Linked DNA regions of Homo sapiens: region 2 is linked to region 1. Evidence: promoter capture Hi-C in 16 types of primary human blood cells and fetal thymus (Javierre and others, 2016). All regions are on one chromosome and are shown on one strand. The core of a region is centred on a gene start or on the middle of the fragment in contact, and the rest is flanking DNA. Distances in the headings are between cores, read along the strand shown.

The links. Contacts are between HindIII fragments. The CHiCAGO score rates a contact against its expected background, and 5 or more counts as called.
Region 2: a fragment that was not itself captured here is called in contact with the fragment with the promoter of ARSK in region 1 in 1 of 17 cell types (non-activated CD4 T cells); the score reaches 5.9 in non-activated CD4 T cells.

The regions. Positions count from the first base shown.
Region 1 is chr5:95,552,832-95,557,068 of GRCh38, reverse strand. ARSK (arylsulfatase family member K) reads right to left here and starts at 1,968. Exons shown (of 8, transcript NM_198150.3): 1 at 1,665-1,968. The coding sequence starts at 1,790. SKIC3 (SKI3 subunit of superkiller complex) reads left to right here and starts at 2,092. Exons shown (of 43, transcript NM_014639.4): 1 at 2,092-2,133. The HindIII fragment of the contact is 6,579 bases long and covers 1,893-4,237 here.
Region 2 is chr5:96,664,845-96,669,081 of GRCh38, reverse strand. All of the region lies in intron 1 of CAST (calpastatin), which reads right to left. Among named protein-coding and RNA genes, the nearest start is that of CAST, 4.6 kb to the right of the region's middle. The HindIII fragment of the contact is 1,868 bases long and covers 2,054-3,921 here.

The DNA of each region.
Region 1 (4,237 bases), core at 719-3,218:
AATTTTTTTTATTTTTTATTTTTTAAAAATTTTTTTATTTTTATTTTTATTTTTTTTTCGAGACGGACTCTCGCTCCGTCGCCCAGGCTGGAGTGCAGTGGTGCGATATCAGGTCACTGCAAGCTCCGCCTCCCAGGTTCACGCCATTCTCCTGCTTCAGCCTCCCGAGTAGCTGGGACTACAGGCGCCCGAAACCACGCCCGGCTAATTTTTTTGTATTTTTAGTAGAGACGGGGTTTCACTGTGTTAGCCAGGATGGTCTTGATCTCTTGACCTCGTGATCCGCCCACCTCGGCCTCCCAAAGTGCTGGGATTACAGGCGTGAGCCACCGCGCCCGGCCGTGAATGCAAAAAATTTAAGCACAAATATAGAAAAATCTATGCATTCATACTACACTAAAAAAAATAACAAACCTATATATCTCAGTCATCTTTGGAAGTTTCTGGGATGTTGTGATCCACATTCGGATTCCCTTTTAGGAATGAACAATTGCCTCTGCTGAAGACAGCTGCTTTGCCCAACACCATGCCCCATTCTAGGAGCAGCCCACAACCAGTGGCCATCCAACATGCAGGTGGAAAGGTCTGTTCTCCTCACTCCTATTGGAAAGCAGCTCTGAAGCACCATACTAGTTTGAGAACTGTCATTCATAAGATGGCAACAAAATTCAGCTTCTCCTCTGCACAATCCTGCTTCCTTCATTTGCCTTTGATTACAAGAGCACTCTGTAATAAAATGCCATCTAGTCAATTTCCAGTACTGCCCATTCTCTAAGTTTAAATCACAAAGATAACTTTAAGTAATATTTTCAAAAAATCCCATGGGCACATCCAGACTATGTAATTTTAATCATCAGGAATCTACGAGAAAGGAAATACAACATATGATTACAAACACTCTTTAGTGCCAGATATGCTTAACACCAACATCTGTGTGACCACAGTAACACCGAGTGATAATAAACTAATATTACAATTAATAACCAAACAATTGTCTAAGCAGCACTTTTTAAAACATGGATCATCCTAAAAGCATCGCGTAAGGTTGACAGTAGCACCTTTGGCTTGGGAAAGTTTCAAAAACTGTTTAAGTTTGGGATTCAGCCACATTACCAACACACACACATACACACAATTTCTCTGGAATACGGGGGAGTGAATCAAGTTATACCAACGATTCCATTTGAATCAGCACTAACAGGATTATCACAGACCTGGGTAATAAAAATAAACTTTCTTCACTTCTCACCCAAACATGAATTCCTGCAAACTTGAGGTGAACTGGAAAATGACTTTTGGAAAGCTAACACGCTTTTATGGAGATGCAGAATGTTATTTTACCACACAATTAAACCAAACGGGGGTATGGACTGAAAGTTCATTAGTCGTGGTAAAATAATTTAGCGAATCGAGGTCAGTATTAAAAAAAAAAGATCTGCAAAGATGTTTTCAGTGTTTCACTATTGTTTTACATGTTTGCATAGGTATGTGGTGTACGTGTGAGTACACGGGGCCTCACATAAAATGTATTTCTTTCTTTGCATCGGGGTAAAAGGTGTTTGAAAATGTCTCAGGTTCTGCTCCCCAAAGCCTGCAGCACAGGCGGCGGCGGTGAGGTCGCCGATCCCCAGCGGGGCGCCCCTCCCCTGCCTCGCGGTACTTACGAAGGAGTCGCTCACGACCAGCACCACATTGGGCGCTTTGGCTGCTCTCCGCCTCTGCTCCCCTGCTCCGGGGGCCAGTACCGCCAGCGCCAAGGCTGCGACCACCGACACCCACAGCAGTAGCATCGCCGGTAGCGGTTCTGAGAGCCTGCCGCCGGGCCAGCCGCCTCCCTCTGGCGTTCTCTCCCTAGCAGAGCAGGGCAGGGACAGCGAACAACTCCCAAAGCTTGCAGTTTGGTTGCTTGATAGTAACGCCGAGCTTCACCCGCAGAACTACAACTCCTATCAGGCGGAGAGCGCGCACATGCGCAACAGAGAAATTCCCGCTTTTACCCACGTTAAGACCTTTTAATCAAATACCGAGCAAATCAGAACCCAGCCACTTCCAGTCACGTGAATGAGTCCTGGGAAAGGCGCATGCGCTCTCATTGCAGCCTCGGCGTTTGTAGAAGAGGAGCATCTGCTCCAGGTGGGTTTGGATTTCTGTCGGTTTTGCACAAGGGATCCTAAAGGCGATTGAAATGGTACTTAGAGAAAGAAAGGATCGGGGCCGGGGCTGTTCATTTTGGGCCGCGCAAGCGTGGCTGAGTGTTCGGCGAGAGCGTGAACTGGGCGGCGATGAGGTGGCGGCGCGGCTGTCACTTAAGTTGAATAGGGCGGTGCCTTGTGGGGCCTCTGGGTGGACCGCCTCAGGTGCGCCGTGAATGCCTTAGACCCCCCCGAATACCTTCCCAGGGAAATCTCTAGCCTGTCTCATCTTATTGCTTCTCTTACCCCGTGCAGTCAGGATTTACTGTGCTCCCATGGGGCGAGGAGCGGGGCCTAGTAAGAAGTTTCAGGCTGTAGGCAGGGGAAAGCATAGCTGTTCCTTGCCTTCAGAGAGCAAAGGAGATAAGCGAAACTGGAGGGGGAAATGGGCTGTGTGACATGTTCAGTTAGTTGACGTAGGTTCAGAATATCATTGTTTTGCTGCAGAATAAAAACCGGTCTCTTTTGACTGTTGAATTCCTTTGGAGAGTTCTGGAAGAAGCAGATTTCTGTCCCAAAGCCAAATTCCAATTTCTGTATCTAGTTTCGGGTATATAATTTGCACATCACACTAGTAGTTTTAATATTCTGACAGTTAAAAGAGGAGTTATACTACTTACTTAAGTCAACTGAATACTAATATCTGGCAGGTTTTTTTTTGCCTAAGATAATTGTAGTAAGGAACAGATTTGTTTATTTAATACTCACATGGCACTTAGGTGCTGAGCGTTATACTAAGCATTTACTGAGCATCTGCTGCGTGCCACGTACTTTTATATGGAATATTTTCTATAATCCTCACTTTCACCATATTGCAGATAGGAAAACAGGCTTAGAGAGGTTAAATGACTGGCCTGAGTTTACACAGGGAGCCAGTCAGAGCACGACTGAAAATTGAAGAGTCTGTGCCGTAACTCACTAAATGCTCTGTCTGCAGTTAGTTTATCTGTTAGTGTAGCAGAATTGTTACTCAAGCAGCATGATAAAGATCTGCGGGAGCATGCAAAAACGTAAACAGTGTTGGGCGCGGTGGCTCACGCCTGTAATCCCAGCACTTTGGGAAGCCGAGACGGGCGGATCACCGAAGGTTAGGGGTTCGAGACCAGCCTGGCCAGCATGGTGAAACCCCGTCTCTACGAAAAATACGCAAAATACTGGGCGTGGTGGCGGGCGCCTGTAATCCCAGCTACTAGGGAGGCTGAGGCAGGAGAATCACTTGAACCCAGGAGGTGGAGGTTGCAGTGAGCTGAGATCGCACCTTTGCACTCCGCCTGGGCAACAAGAGCAAAACTCCATCTCAAAAAAAAAACAAAAACAAAAAAACCCCTAAACAATAGTCTCAGTTTACATGAGTTTAGATTTCAGGGAAGCAAAACCAAGCATACATGAAATAATAATACAGCACGGAAGGTAATACAAGTGGGCTCTCTCATAAAAACAAATTTGTTTTGAGTTAATTTGGAATGTAGAACGTATTTTCTACCATAGTGACAATATTGACTGACATTTAAATTCATAAAAGTTATATTTAATTTTGTGTCTGATTCCATAAACTGTGCTTACTCTCTACAGCCTTGTTTCCACAGGACATGTACTCTGATGACAGGCTTACAAGAATACATCTTTTTCTTCTTTCTCCCCTTGGCAGTGTCAATAGGAGCAGGTGCTGCAGTGATTTGGAGCAAGACAGATATTTTAGAGCCTTAGAGACGTTGTGCTGGAAGAATCTAAGAGGCTTCTAGTCCTACTTCCCATCTGACATTCAGTTTATCCTAAAACATTCCTGCTGAGTGGATTGTCCAGCCTGTGCTTTTTCATCTCCAGTGATGGGAAACACTTCCATTGAGTACCTCATTCCACATTTATATAGGTCTCATTAAAAGTTCCTATTTTAAGTTGAAGTTAATCTTCCTCTATTTTTAACCATTCATTAGTGCATTTTTCTTCACTTTTACATGGATAATCTCTCCCTTTCAACAGTCCTTCCCCCAACTCCCTCGCCACCATTTATTTATTTTTCCTAGTCCCCAGTTTCTTCAGCTAGT
Region 2 (4,237 bases), core at 1,738-4,237, 1.1 Mb before region 1:
AATTCTCTTGATGGATGGCCTCAAGTTGGGTTTAGCCAACAGCAGGCGCTGCCAGGAGACTAGAGGTGGTGGGTGGGTGGTATTCCCTTTGCCCCACCCCCTCCTCCAGTAGCACCTCCTGCAGGATGGGTTGGCTGTGGTTCCAGCTTCTGCAAGGTGACCCTTGTCCTCCCTGTGTCCCTCTAGACTAGGGATGGTAGCAGCTTCCTGCAATTTCTAATCTCTGGGTTGCCTCACCCTCCCCTGACGGCTTCCCAGCCTTTTTTTTTTTTACCTGGGTAACCAATTCCCTATGTTACACTCCCTTTGTTTTAAATACTCAGAGTCATTTCTGTCTGTTAGTTGACTGCAATAAACTCTGATAGGGCAGAAACAGCCTAGATTTGTAAGGCTATATGACCGTGACCTTGGGCAGATAATTTAATTTTTCAGTTTCTTTTTGTAAAATAGGGCTAATGGTATCTATCCCAGGGGCTGGCAAATTTATGAAAAGAGTTGACATTAGTGAGGCACCTGGTTCATTGCCTTGTTCATTTTAAGAACACAATTAAAATTATTTCACTCCCTTCTTTTTCCCTGGCAATCTGACTGTGGTGAATTAGAAGCCAGTGAGTTAAGGTTTGAGGGTTTCATTTTCTAAGGCTGTAAACATTAGAACAGAAGAATTTAGTATTTTACTTTCCCTAAAGTACAAAGGAACCTTATCAGGTTCATCTGATTAAGTTTTTGTTTAGTACTTTGTCTATCTCATGACTGTGTATTATATATTATTCTCACATCTTCGTATAACACTCAAGGAGATAAACTACATGGGGGTTAAAGAATTCATTTTCCCAACAAACTACAGCAATTTGGTTACAAGGATGACTTATATTTGCAATTCCCATGCTTTAAAACATGTTGAAAGGGTGTGTGTGTGTGTGTGTGTGTGCACGCGTGTCTGTGCTGGTAGCTGTGACGGTTAACAGATAAAACAAGATTAGGACAATGTTGACAATTATTGACACCAATGATTGGTATATGAAGAGGTCATTATACTTATTTATTTATTTATTCATTTATTTATTGAGACGGAGTCTTGCTCTGTCGCCCGGGCTGGAGTGCAGTGGTGCAATCTCGGCTTACTGCAAGCTCCGCCTCGCGGGTTCACGCCATTCTCCTGCCTCAGCCTCCTGAGTAGCTGGAATTACAGGCGCCTGCCACCACGCCCAGCTAATTTTTTTGTATTTTTAGTAGAGATGGGGTTTCACCATCTTGGCCAGGCTGGTCTTGAACTCCTGACCTTGTGATCCATCCGCCTCAGCCTCCCAAAGTGCTGGGATTACAGGCGTGAGCCAACCGCACCCAGCCTCATTATACTCTTCTCTTATTCTGTGTACTAATGCTTAATATATATTAAGGATTAACTGCATAGCTGTAATTCTGAAATCCCTCTGTTTTCACTGAACCCCAAGTGTTCGTTTTTTCTAACATTTTAAGATTTCAGTGGACATGACAAGATGACACTGTAAAGGTACAGGCCCTTTGTGTCCAATTTTCAGAGGTGGCATCTATTGCCTGTCATAGATTAGCTCCTGGGATTCACCTGAAGTAAGGCTGGATGAGTTTTTCTTAAGTCAAAGGGGGTATCATGAGAATTTAAATAGTTGCTTTGTTGCCACAGCAGTTGTCATGAGAATGAACTTGTAGTTTTATCTATGAGAAATGCAAGAGGAGGCCAGGCACAGACCACTGCACGATTTTTTTGTGTCCACCGCACTCTGCACAAAACTGACACACAGCAGGTGGACAATAAACAACTGTGAACATCTTTGAGCTTTACCAAATTTATTCTTATGTTCTATGAGTTTCCTACAACCAAAACAAATTTCATACATTTTTAGGAAACTATAACTTTAGACCTTTTTCTTCCTGAGTTAACTGACTTTTCCATCTGAGGAGATAACTTACATGAACAGTGTTTATTGGATGGAACTGTTCTTGCATTTTTCTTAACTGGAAGACATCTGATATACTTCCCCCTGCCCCCCGCCTTTATGGTGGCTGTAAAGCTTTCTGGGTATGTTTTCATGAAAGGAAAATGAGACAACTCAAAGAACAGAACTTTAGTATCTGTTAATATGATTTTCATCTTAAAAATACCTCAAGGGGGAAAAATGATGTACTACTTAGAGTAGTTTTGTATCTGCTGAGACAATCTAGTCAGAACTAATTACCCACCTATCCACATGGAATCTCACATGACCCCCCACTGTTCCCACCCCCAGAAGGCTATAGCATTCTTTAAAAGGCACCTGTAGAATATAATTAACCTTCTGGGAAGTGCCAAAACTGATTTAAAGAAAGATATTATCAGATGCTACTCTTGGTTTAAAAGGCTTATACACAATGGGGCGCGAACTAATTCAAAGACTGTCAGCTGAAAGAGAAAGGCTGTATTTGACCTCTATGTTTCCATTACCCTAAAGTCTATGCCCTTTTTGCAGGCCCTGTTATTTGCCTTCCTTAGTTCTAAAATTCACTGTGAGCAAGTGATCTGTCCTGCCATGGAAGGCTTGCAACATTCTTCCCAGGCTGGCAGCAATGATGGGGCCTCCCAAATGACTGGGCTCCTTGATCATGCTGTCACTAGGTCTATGGATCTAATTAGGCTAAGAAACACCTTTAATTAACATAGTCTAATAGAATCAACTGATGATTCAGGAATGTGATGACTGGTGTGGGCCAAATTAACCTTCGTTCATGCTTGATCATTACATAGCTCATAGATGTTCTTCAAATTTAGCTCTGCAGAGTTGTGTGGTGTGTGTGTGTGTGTGTGTGTTTACTACAACCACATTTTTCAGAAGATAAAGTCAATAGGATTGATGGCATTCAATGTGGAAATATACATTGCAACGTTTCACTGACTAGCTTTATAGGTGGCATGCTGTTAAACGAACACATCTGAGACATGTCTTTTAATTATTTCATTTTATTCTGCCTAAATTTTGAAAGTTAGATCATTTATAACCTTTTCAGTACTTAAAGGATTCCACAAAGATATTTTAATTATAGGATTTACCTGAAGTATTCTGAGATGTCTGTGTATATACCGATATCTGTGTTTATATCTGTAGATATATATGCATATAAATCTGTCTATATATGTATTATACATGCATGTGTACATACAGACAGACATCTGTATTTATATCTGTAGATACATACACACATAAATCTAGATGTCTACATATGTATTATACATGCATGTGTGTATTATATATAAATATGCACATATATGTATATTGGATTGTATATGTTTGTATGTGTGTATGTATATGTGTGTGTGTGTGTGTATGTGTGTGTGTGTGTGTTATAAACTGGCTCCATGGACCTTTGGGGGATTTATGGGTGGTCTTTTGGAAATCTCTGAACTCCCTGAAGCTATATTGGAAACTGCATTTTGTGTATGTTTGTATGTATTTTGTTGTGGGAAAGCAGTCCATAAATCCCATTTGATTCTCAAAATTGTCTGTGACCACCCACCTATCACCAAAGGAAAAAAAGAAAGTTTAGGAGTCCATGGTCTAGCGCTATACTGTCCATTACTATAGCCCCTAGCTGCTTGTGGCTACTGAACACTCTTGAAATGTGGCAAGTGTGAATTGAGATGTGCTGTTAATGTAAATATACATTGGATTTTGAAGAATTAGTATAAAAAAGAATGTAAAATATCTCAATGGCTTATACACTGATTACATGATGAAATAATAATATGTGGGATATAGTAGGTTAAGTAAAATATATCAATTAGCACAAATTTCACCTGCTTTTTGTTGTGATGTTGTTGTTAAAGTGGCTCCTTGGAAATCTGAAATTGCAGACGTGGCTCACATTATGTTTCTATTGAATAGCACTGGTTTGGGCAAAGCTAAAGCTTGATCACAGGCATGTAGCTGGTTCTAGGAAGTTCCTACTAGCAAAAAGTTTTCATGGTAGTACCAAAATGGGATTCTAAGAGAGGTTTTAGCAAAAACATCAGACTGTGACTAAACAAAACAGGGTTAAAAGCATAGATTCAAACTACTTTCATCCAAGTAACCCAGCAGAGTTTCCTTGAGAGAATCATGAGTCTGGAAGGAGAATTTTGATGTCAACTCTGAACTACTGCTATCCATATTTGCAGATAAGGTACATGGTACATTTTGATAAGAACCTTAGGCCAATAATGACTCAAAGCAAATTGATGTGGTTT